3 separate regions of the Homo sapiens genome follow, and all the other regions are linked to region 2. Evidence: promoter capture Hi-C in human tissues and cell types (Jung and others, 2019). All regions are on one chromosome and are shown on one strand. The core of a region is centred on a gene start or on the middle of the fragment in contact, and the rest is flanking DNA. Distances in the headings are between cores, read along the strand shown.

Region 1 (3,946 bases), core at 515-3,014, 150 kb before region 2:
CCTAGGCTGATAATCCCCGAAAAAAAGTAACAAATGCAATTGTACCCCCCACCCCCATATACAGCCCTCATATATATATATGAGAGAGAGAGAGGAAAAGATCATGAGACATGTCTTCTAGGGAAAAAAAATTCTAACTTCCCTAGCCACTGTAGTCATTTGAAACCTGAGTTAGACTATGAGTTAGGAAGTATTTTCATAGAGTTCAATTAATATATTTCTGCTCTATGCATGATGCTAACAGGTTTAAGAAACACAAAAGCCAAACCCAATAGAGAATCCATTTCTTCATTTCAAAAGGGTATGAATATACCCCTTTGGCAATCACAATGGAAACTGAAGAAGTATCATGTTCAAGGACACATAAAGAATTGTTTTTACAACAACCACTTTCCAAAAATAAGCATTGTAAAGCGAGTACAGTGGTTGCCAGTGTTAAATCTATGTTTCTCACTTCTTTCTTGCCTAGTTGCCTGAAGGACTCCTGGCAGAGTAGGCCGCCACAATGCAGGAAGCCATGGACCACTGGCCCAGTGCTTTCTGATCCACTGTGTGCTACAGGGCAAAGAGCTCCACATGGCTCCATGATATTAAAGAGGCATTTATAGAAGCAGATTCACTCTTTAGACCACAGCAGACTCAGCACCTTGCAACTTCAACGGATTAAATGGTTCCAAAGGGAGAATGCTATCCTCTAATTCTTCTACCAAGTAGACACCTGGCAAAACCTGACTCATTTTCTAGACCCACAGACCTACCACATATATAAACCCCTCTCACAAACTCTCTTTCCTCTGTCATCTTCTCCCGGTCCTTAGCCGCCAAATACTCACACTGATAACTTGAATAAATCACCCACTTAGGGATGAAAGCTTCCCTGGGATTGGTTTCAAAGAAAAGTCCTCAATAATGTAAGCTACCAATGGCCTATAATTGCCAAGGAAACTATTAGCCATTTGGAATTTGTTTTCTCATTTGTAACAGTAACATTTTCTTTTCTTCCTGGTCTATAAAGAATAAGCATTCATTCTTTCACTCATCTGTTAAACAAATGTTTATTGGTGCACTGATTACTGTTGTAAGCTCTGAGGTTGACGTAGCGATTCAGCCTAGGCCCCGCCTTTCAAGAATCTTACATCAAGACAAATACATAGATGAGGAAATATGTAATAGCCAGTGGTAAGTGCTTGCTATTACGGTCTGAGTGTTTGTGTCCTTCCAAAATTCATATGTTGAAATTTAATTACCAATGTGCAAGTATTAAAAGGTGGGGCCTTTGGGAGGTGACAAGGCCATGAGGCCAGACCCCTCAAGAATGAGATTAGCGTCCTTTTAAAAGAGGCTTGAGGGAATTTGTTTGCCCCTTTGCCTGTCCACCATGTGAGGACACATGAATCCAAAATTCAGGGAGACTCAAACATTAACTACTCCATGAAGGCACTGGTGGCCAGGTGTAACAGATGGCTCCATGTGCACAGAGGTGACGGAGCAGACACTGCTGTCCCTGGGGCATCCTGCCTCACAGGTGCCTTCATGGGGATAAGGCTAATGCATGGGACAGTATATGGTTTCAGATTTGGTAAACCTGTTTCTTTTCCTGATGATTTCTGATGATTTGCAATTTTTTTTTTTCCTTCAAAAATTCTCTTTCAGTTTCCAAAGTCACACGTACAGGAGAACTCAAAAGGGCCTAAAGATACCTTCCTACACTGGTCGGTGTCCTAGCTATTGGAGGGCAGAGACCCTAAAACTGCTCTTCTTTCTGCCTTTTCAGGGCCAGAGCTTGGGTGGACAATAGATATGATTAACAGAAGACACACTAGCAGCAAATATGCCTTCTCCCCCTAAAATTACTACCAGTATCATAATGTAATTAGTAATATTATCTTTATATTTTCTTTCCATAAAACATAGTCAATCCAACCTAACCATAAGAGCAGCATGCCCACATTAAATATTGTGATTGACTGGAATTTCAGTAAAATGTATCATGTAATAAAAACACTAAGGTTTAATGTAAAAAAGAAATTTAATTTTTCAAATTGTATTTTAACCTCTTTTTTATCCTCTTATTAATTACTTTAAGAAACAAAGATTTTTTGGGTAATACATTAATTTAATAAGGCATAATAAAGACACACCTCTTCTAGGAATAAATTATAGCAGAAAGTAGATCATTCCTATTGTGTAACAAGCCAGTGCTGGATTAATATATTTGTAAACATCTAAATTGAAAACAAAGATTGTGTTAGGAAAATAAGAGCTGGCGGTTGAGTTGAAGAACCTTGAAAATAATTAGATATATAATCATTTCTTACAAGTAAAGACTTTTTCAAAATTAATTTGTTTGATCTAGATCTGTTAACAATAATTGAAAATACCCTATATATTGAAAAATCTAGACATACACCATTTAATTGCATTCATGTATTCAACGAATATATTTTATTTAATTCCTATAATGTAACTAGTGCTGTGCTAGATGCTGATGATACAAAAATAAAGACCCAGACATCTGCTAAGGAAGTCACTTTAGTGTGACCATTTTTGAAAAGATAAAGAAGAGGTGGTGATTCAGTATAATGATGATTTACTTATTTTTAAGTTAAGTATCAGTGAGGTGTTTTAACTAACAATATTTTTCTATAGGCTGAAAATATTTTTGTATACTATGCTGTGCTTTCATAGCCTAATCTGACCCCAATTTATACGCATAAAAAATGATTGATTTTATGATGAGAACACATGGACACATACAGGTGAACAACAGACACTGGGGCCTACCAGATGGTGGAGGATGATGATGGAGAAGATCGGGAGAAATAACTAATGGGTACTAGGCTTAACGTCTGAGGCATGAAATAGTCTGTACCATAAACCCCCATGACATGAGCTTACCTTTATAACAAATCTGCCCGTGTACTCCTGAACTTAAAAGTTAATAAATAATAATAATTGATTTTGTACAGAAACTTGGCAATAGGATCACAGAAGTCTTTAATTGAATTTACTTTTATTCTCTTTGCACTGATTCACAGAGAGGCTAGCTTGAGCTCTTGCAACAAATGCTATATCATTTCTGAGGTGTAGCCTTTTCTTTCTCCTAACGCAACTTGTAACTTGGATGGAACTGTTACTCCCAGGAAATTCCGAGAATCTCCTGACTCAGAACTGGAATGAAGACACAACAATGGAGGGGATATCCCCACATACTCACCTGTTTTATTCATCAGCTCAGGCTGCCATAACAAAATACCACAGATGGGGTGGCTTAAATGCAGAAATTTATTTTTCCAAAGTTGTGGAGGTTGGAAGTCCAAGGTCAAGGTGCCAGCAGGGTTGGTTGCTGGTGAGACCTCCCTCCTCAGCTTGCAGAGGGGACTACTTGCTACTCCTTACACAGCCATTCCTCTATGTGTGCACACGTAGAGAGAGTGTGCGCTGGTGTTTCTTCCTTCTCTCATAAGGACTCCAGTCCTATTGGGTTAGGGTCCCACCCTTATGACCTTATTTAATCTTAATTACATTTTTAAGGTTCTGTTTCCAAATACAGTCACATTGGAAGTTAGGGCTTCAACATATGAATTTTCACGGATACAATTCAGTCCATAATGCAGATCTTTCAGAACAGATGTTATCACTCATGAAATAAGAAATAGATACCGGTTTTCCTTTTTTCCTTCCTTTTTTCCTTCTATTCTCCCAAGTCAAGCATCCATGTATTTTTAAAATAATGCATCCAGCATTTTACATGTAATTACGTAAAGTTTAAGAATGAAATACTGCTTTTAAATATTGATGTTTAAATGTAGTTCGGCATGGTAGCTCAGATTCTCCCAAGTTAAGCATCCATGCATTTTTAAAATAATGCATCCAGCATTTTACACGTAATTACATAAAGTTTAAGAATGAAATACTGCTTTTAAATATTAATGTTTAAATGTAG
Region 2 (3,541 bases), core at 980-3,479:
CACATATGTGAGCACATAAAAACACAAAGGAACCTTTAGCTTTATCATTCTACTTTGAATAGATAGCTTCCCTACTGGTATATTTATGTTTTTCTAAAATTAAGTTCTTGAGGAGTTTGTATTCATCACACAAAATGTCATACAGACCTAGTGCATACATTTGCCATAAGAAAGCCCTATTATATTACATGATTAGAAGTTAAATCACATTTTTCAAATTTTAAATCGAAAAGAGCATAAGAATGATCTACACACCCACTCATTCTCACATTTTTATGCTTTCACACAGTGAATCAGCAAATGTATTCTTTTTCTGAATAATATATAAAAATAAGAATGTTTTGAAAACCTTTATACAGTTTGGCAGACTTAGCCTAATGGGTTGTTTAACAAAGTAAACTCCCTCATTGTTTTGGTTAGCTTTATTATTAAGAGTAAAAATCCTTCATTGCAAAACTTATATGAATCTGTGGTACAGAAAAATAAACTGGTTTACACATCATTGAGAAACTACCACATTCTGAAAATTACATTTATAGTTCCATCTTTGTCTTACAACCAAGTGCATAAGCGCATAAATCACAGATCAAAATAGACACCATCAGATAACTTTCAGGGGAAAGAAAAACATCCTAAGACAACACACAACAAAAAGCACTGTTTCAGCTAAATATTAAACAAAGCAGCAATAACTAACACTCATGGGCTTCACGACAACTGATAAACAAGAACACTTAAGGAATTCCTCTGCCAGTTTCAATGGCAAATCCTTGCTCTTTTGAACACTTTACTGATTGGACACTTAAACATCTTCTGCCTTGTAGTCACTTCAACCTTTATGAAACAGTTGTTGAAAACGGACATGACTATTCCAGTTAATTTATACTTTCTAAGGAAATATATTTAATGACAAGTGTGAGCAAGTAGCTCCTACCTCAAATTAACCACTTAGAGTGGTGTATTTTTCACCTCTCAACTCTCTACTCAGACCCTCCTTCCATTGCCCTTAGGGAATTGAAATTCAGAGACATGACGTTTTCCATTATTGGTTCCTTGCCCCTTTGCAACTGTACAACATTCCTCAAAAAGTACATAGAATTCTCCATCCTATAGGATCAGACAACAGTATCTATTTCAGGAGCAATAATATGCATAATGTAAGACAGAATAGTTTTTCTTGGAATTGTCTGTGTTAATTGTGATTTAAAGGTTACTGGTTCCGTCTATGACAATGGTGTTGCTGAGTTCACCTAAGTATTTTTGTTCAATCTGCATACTTTAAAAACTCAATGTGGCTAAAACTCAAACAGTCTAAATTAGACTGTTGTAAGGATACCATGTGCCCTAAACAGTGGTTTTTTTAGAGCATTATACTTAAAGACAACATTTTCCTTAAAAAAAGAAAAAAAACATGTCTATGAAGAAACAAAGATACTGCAAAATTAGTATAGAGAAGAAAAGTCCAAAATTCCGTATTCCTCTGTTTAACAACCTGTACGGTAAATTGTAGGTGACAATCACGTTGTTACATGAATAGGAATGCAAAGCATAAAGAACAAGAGCTACATCTTGCTTTTCCTAAAGAAATTAAAGACAAGTTTAACCCGCACCTGCCAAACTGTCTTAAAAGGGACAGAAATAGGTGGGAACGGAAAGGCTCACCTCTCCTGTACCCCAGAGTGCGTCTCCCTGAAATCATCTTCAATATAGGCAATATATCTGTCACCTTCTCTTTTATCTTTTTCGTCCATTCTAGTCAATGGCAGACCCTTTGCTGCACTCCCCTGCCCACTATCTCAAAGACACATTACAGAATAAGGGGACCCAAGTGTCACTTACCAGTTGCATGCCACAGATAAAGATAAGCGTGCACCTGCCACTGCAATAACCCATGGTTTCCGAGACCCCTGCCACAGCCAGACTGTCCCACGTCGGCCACCGTCGAGCCCCCACTTTATCCAATCAGATCGCGGGGAAGGACACGCAAACCTGCCGAGGGCTCGGGGGCTCCGGGCTGCTGCTGCTGCCAGCGTCCTGGGAAGTGACAGGCATTAGGACCTGCTGGCGCGGCGGCGGCGGCGGCGGCAGCTCCAGCCGCGCCCGCCACACATACCTTCACTCGCTCGGTGCACACGCCGCGCCGCGGGCAGTGCCGCCTGCGGAGGCGCGCTCGGGGCCCGCAGGGGCAGCAGCGGCAGCCTGGCAGCGCCGCCGCGCCCTCGGGCATCTGGCCCGCGAAGTTTCGCCCCTGCCGCTCTCCGCGCCGCTCGCCTCACGCCCCCCAGCGCGGCCGCCGCCCGACGCGCGCTCGCCCTGCGCTCGCCGCGCGCCGGCTCCGGGGGCGGCAGAAGCGCGCGAGGGCCGCTGCCCGCCTCCCTGCGCAGCCCGCGGCTCCTAGGCACCCTGCGTTGCTGGGCCCGGCGGGCGGGGGTGGGGCGGGGAGCGGGGCGCGGGCCGAGCGGGGGCGTCCCGGCTCCGCGGTCCCCGGCGGCTGCTGCAGCGGCTGCTGCGCGCAATGATGCGGGTCCGCGCCGCGTCCCAGCAGCGGCGCTGCCCCTCCCTTCGCCCAGATGTGTGAATCCTCCTCCTACAACAAATCCTTCATCCTGCTCCCTGCCGCCCCCTCCCAGGGGGCCAACTTTGAGGACCGCAGGGGCTGCCGCCCAGGCGGCCGCAGGCGGCGGTGTCTAGGCGGAAAGGAGCGGCGCGAAAGCGGCGGCGGCGGGGACCGGGGCCTCGGGGCGAGGAGTCTGGGCGGCATGACCGCGGTTTGCTGAGCTGAAGTCGGTCGTGCTCCCAGAGCCACTCCGCGGGAGCGAACCGAGTGTGTGTGTGCGCGCGCGCTCGGGGGAGAAGGGACCAAGAGGAGGGTTAGGGAAGGAAGCTGGGGTCATGGAACAGGGGTGCAACCGAGGCATCCAGAGCGGCCGGAAAGCCCGAGTGGCGGAGAGGCCAGAGGTGGCGAGAAGGGGCGCGGCGGCACCGGACGCACCGCCCAGCACCTGGCTCCCCTGGGCTCCCGAGGATCTGAAGGGTCGGAGCGCGGAGAGCTACGGAGCCGACCCTGCTTGGGGAAGGGGACCGAGTTGCTGCTGGAGTTGGGAAAAATTAGCAACCGGAGGGAATAGGGATGCAATGAGTTGCTGTTGCTGCTTCAAACTGTTGTTTGTTTTCACTTAAAATACTAAAGAGTCGGAGACTAGTTTAATACTCAGTTACTTCAGCTTCACAGCAGTCCCAGCTGGGTGTGGATTCCTAGTGGAGATGCACCAGCCTCCGCTGAGCACCGGCCTGAAAGCTGTGAAGCGGCTGCTACCTGCAGAGACAGGCTTCGGAGCCCGCTGCTGCCACCTGCGGGCGGAAAGCTGAAGGGCGCAACATGCTGGCCCAAGTGGCTGCCCCTGGGGCGTGGATATTTAGGACCAAGTTTCCTTTTTAGCCCTGGCAGCTAAGGAAAGCAATCCTAACTTTTCCAGGAAGTGAAGATTATTTGTTGAGATCCACTGAGGAACTGACTCATTGGGGTGAAGTGTCGCGATTG
Region 3 (3,724 bases), core at 1,197-3,696, 200 kb before region 2:
TTGTTGTTATTATTACTTTTTTTTTTTTAATTACACCTTAAGTTCTAGGGTACATGTGCACAACGTGCAGGTTTGATACATAGGTATACATGTGCCATGTTGGTTTGTTGCACCCATTAACTCATCATTTACCTTAGGTATTTCTCCTAATGCTATACCTCCCCCATCCCCCCACCACCTGACAGGCCCCGGTGTGTGATGTTCCCCACCCTGTGTCCAAGTGTTCTCATTGTTCAATTCCCATCTATGAGGGAGAACATGCAGTGTTTGGTTTTCTGTCTTTGTGATAGTTTGCTGAGAATGATGGTTGGATGAAACTGGAAACCATCATTCTCAGCAAACTGAAAATTTTTTTAATCTTTAAGTTCACCTTTGAAACAAAGCAGTTGATCGGTTTCAGTTATTTCATTTCCTCTCCCCTTTCCTGTCTGGCTTCCCTCTTCCTTCCCCACCCTCCCTCTTTTCTTCTGAACTTCTCTCCTCAGCATTTTATGACTGGCCAGGAATTACTCAGGTAAGTTATATTCTTTCTCATAAATATATTTGAATGATTCAGGCTGCATTCTCTTTACTGAAGATCTATCCTGTAAACAAATATTTTTGAATGAAAGGATCTGATTCTGATGTGTTCTTAATCCAAATGAACCGTACCACAGATATTTTATCTAAATGGCTACTACAATAAACCCTAAAACCAGACTTGAGATCAGAATAGCATTCAGATACTTTTTCCCAAGATATTAAAAGTGGTTCATATCCAAGTTTGGAAAATCATTCATTCAATAAAGTTAGTGACTAAGAAAATAATTAGCACATGCTATTACTTGCTTTGGAATTAGCTCGATATTTTAGTCCAGACAAATTATGGAACATGCACACAAAAATCCAAATGTTCTCTTTGTGCACTTTTAGCTCTAGTCAGTATTATAATTTCCTATGTCAATTTCTAGTCTAGTGTCTGCATTCTGTCTTTAAAGTCTGGCAATCTGGCCTGATACTGATCCTTGCGCCACTGATATTTAAGCATGTACTCTGTATTTCCCATTGCAGACCTCCATTCACCTGTTGAGATCCCTGCTGCCCCATCTTGAGCCCCTGCAGCTGTTTTGCTGCCCTGAGAATGCAGTGCCCTTTGTTCACTGTCTTCCTCCCCTCTGTAGCTCTGATGTCAACAGGCAGTGGTTACAGGCAACTCTGTTCCCCCAAAACCTCATTGGCTTGGCCTTATATGTTACATTTTAGGTCACTCCCACTCACTTTGCCATACCAGCTCTGTATTATGTGTACAAAATTCCATGTCTTATTAATGCCCCCAGAATTAAAACATCCAGTTGGTAAAACAGTACCAGACACATATTAGGCACTCCATTCAAAAGCATTTGGTGAAGAATTTGCATTCCATCAACAAGTTCTGAACAAGTTTGGCATTACCAAAGATGAGGACATGAAATGGTAAAAGATGATGGTACCATCAGAGGTGAAATATGGGTTCTTTCATGTTGAGTTTAACGATCTGTATGCATATATAGCCATGGAAAGAGTATGGTACCTAATATTAAAATATGTAAGATGGTCCCACATTACCAGGAATGCTTTTTAGAAAAAATAATGCACATGGTAAGTGTCTAAACAATGTCACTAATGTGTAAGTCTATGAAAATGTGACTCCAGATTTTTATCTCCATCCCCAATGTTACCACTTTCTGGTAGATGACTAACAATAAAATGAATGTTGTGTTCTTTTTGTTCATTTTGTTCTTTTAACTTATAAAACATCGTATCTGTAAAGAGGAATAGTTGCATTGTCTGCTCTGGTTAAGAAGAGATATCAGAATTATCTTCTGAGGAATGAAAGGGATGCCGTGGGAGGGGAGGTCTAACCATGAATTTATTTTACCTGCTTGGCTAACACAATGCTCCAAATGGAGCCAGTCATCCTTGTGTTTTTATAACTCACATTAGAACTTAAGTTGGTTCAGCATGCCAGCAGAGCTTTGCTCAAAGCTCAGAACACAGTGTGGGCAGTTCAAAGCTTGCCAAAGTCTATTTATAAACCATGCAAAGCACATGCTCAGCGTTTGTGAATTCAAGTACAGTATAATACTGCAAGGGTTGTCAGCTCTTTCTCACTAAATTATATTTTTCAAGATTACTCTTTTCTCTCATTCTTTTTTGCAATAAAGGCGTAAAAGAAAGTTAGCACTTTCTTTTGAATGGAGCAAGTTAAATGAGAATGAGTGCCATCGCCAGGCCAGGTTTCCAACTACCTTAAATAGAGTAAAGAAGGTGGAGATCATAGTCTATGGCCAAAGCAGTCTATGAATGACTCATTTGGTGATAATATGCAGGGTGGATTACTGGTCAGGATAATACCCAAGGAGACATTTGAAATAACTCAGAAAGAAAATGAAGTAGGAGATTGGTAAGGGGGAAAAAAAAAGGGACAGATAGGAAAACAAATTTTAAAAAGCAAAAAGCATGAGGACTTAGTTCTTTGTAATTTCCTCAGTGATTCAGCACCCAGAATAAGGTTTTCTCTATTTATTCATTAACCATTCATTTCACTCTTAACATATGCTACCTTATATTATTACCATTTTTAATGTTTTCCCTCTATCCCCAACCACGTATTATCTGAGAATGTCTGATAATATCCAGGCATTAGATATACCGGGAGCATCCAACTCAGAGAGTGCCCGAAGGATGAGTTTATTTATTATCAGAGGTGGAATGCAGGAGAAATATCAATAGAACTTGGTTATAATTTTAATATATTAACATTTTTATTGAAAGCCAAATATGAAGATATTTCCTTTTTCAACTAGAATTTGCTTCAGCATATGAATTCGTCTCTGTATCACTGTTGTATAGCACTCTAGTGCATTCCTGGGATTGAATAAATGTTTGTTGAATGAATAAGTTACATACCATTGTATTTAAATTAACAATGATTATGATTCAATGTGGAAATGGCAAAATTATGATAATTAACGCATGGCAAATAATGTTCCTCCTTTGAGTAACTAACCCTCTTGTGCAATGCACATTTATGCTTGCATATATATATATATATATATATATATATATATTTAGAACTAAGAGAACTTCTTTTTCTATTTAAAAAGTTGTATAAACACTGAATAGTAATTGATTTCTTATAGAATCCACTTGTTTTTATGTTATGTGACCTTTCTAAACAAAACAATTATTTAAAAAACTGTCAATTTGGCACCTAAATAAATTTTCTTTCACTTCCTAATAGTAGTCACTCCTATGTCTACATTTATTTATTTAGTTGTAACATTAATGGAGTATTTTAGGAAACACATGATTCATTATGATTTTTTTAAAAACCAGAGGTCTATGTAAATGAAATGTGGTGTATGATACTCTGTTATGCAGACAGATATCAATTTTAAACAATGTTACTTTTTCCTCTTTGCTATTTTTGAAATTATTTATATGAAAATTAGAAGTTAAATCTTTATAGTTCTGGATAACTGAAATGTTCTATAATTGTCCTTACCAGCCCACATATACTATAAAATCATTCATGTTGTTTTTTACTTTCTCCTTGTAAACATAGCTTTAGCAAGTTATCACAGTTTTCAGAGCTGAATAGCTCTGTACATAGTCTGATTTCTAATCTAACATTCAAAAGCTATTCCCTTTAAAGAGCCAAAAAAAAAAAGTTTACAAACTAAAGTCACTCCAAAAGCAAAAA

The links. Contacts are between HindIII fragments. The study calls those that stand out against the background at their distance.
Region 1: a contact is called between a fragment that was not itself captured here and the fragment with the promoter of NKAIN2 in region 2, in 1 of the 25 tissues and cell types used here (hippocampus).
Region 3: a fragment that was not itself captured here is called in contact with the fragment with the promoter of NKAIN2 in region 2 in 2 of the 25 tissues and cell types used here (dorsolateral prefrontal cortex and hippocampus).

What each region holds. Positions count from the first base shown.
Region 1 is chr6:123,955,926-123,959,871 of GRCh38, reverse strand. The region is part of intron 1 of NKAIN2 (sodium/potassium transporting ATPase interacting 2); the gene reads right to left. Among named protein-coding and RNA genes, the nearest start is that of NKAIN2, 150 kb to the right of the region's middle. The HindIII fragment of the contact is 4,534 bases long and covers 1-3,946 here.
Region 2 is chr6:123,802,553-123,806,093 of GRCh38, reverse strand. It overlaps NKAIN2 (sodium/potassium transporting ATPase interacting 2), which reads right to left and starts at 2,229. Exons shown (of 7, transcript NM_001040214.3): 1 at 1,840-2,229. The coding sequence starts at 1,893. RefSeq lists an enhancer at 3,424-3,473. The HindIII fragment of the contact is 12,261 bases long and covers 1-3,541 here.
Region 3 is chr6:124,001,166-124,004,889 of GRCh38, reverse strand. The region is part of intron 1 of NKAIN2 (sodium/potassium transporting ATPase interacting 2); the gene reads right to left. Among named protein-coding and RNA genes, the nearest start is that of NKAIN2, 200 kb to the right of the region's middle. The HindIII fragment of the contact is 6,679 bases long and covers 1-3,724 here.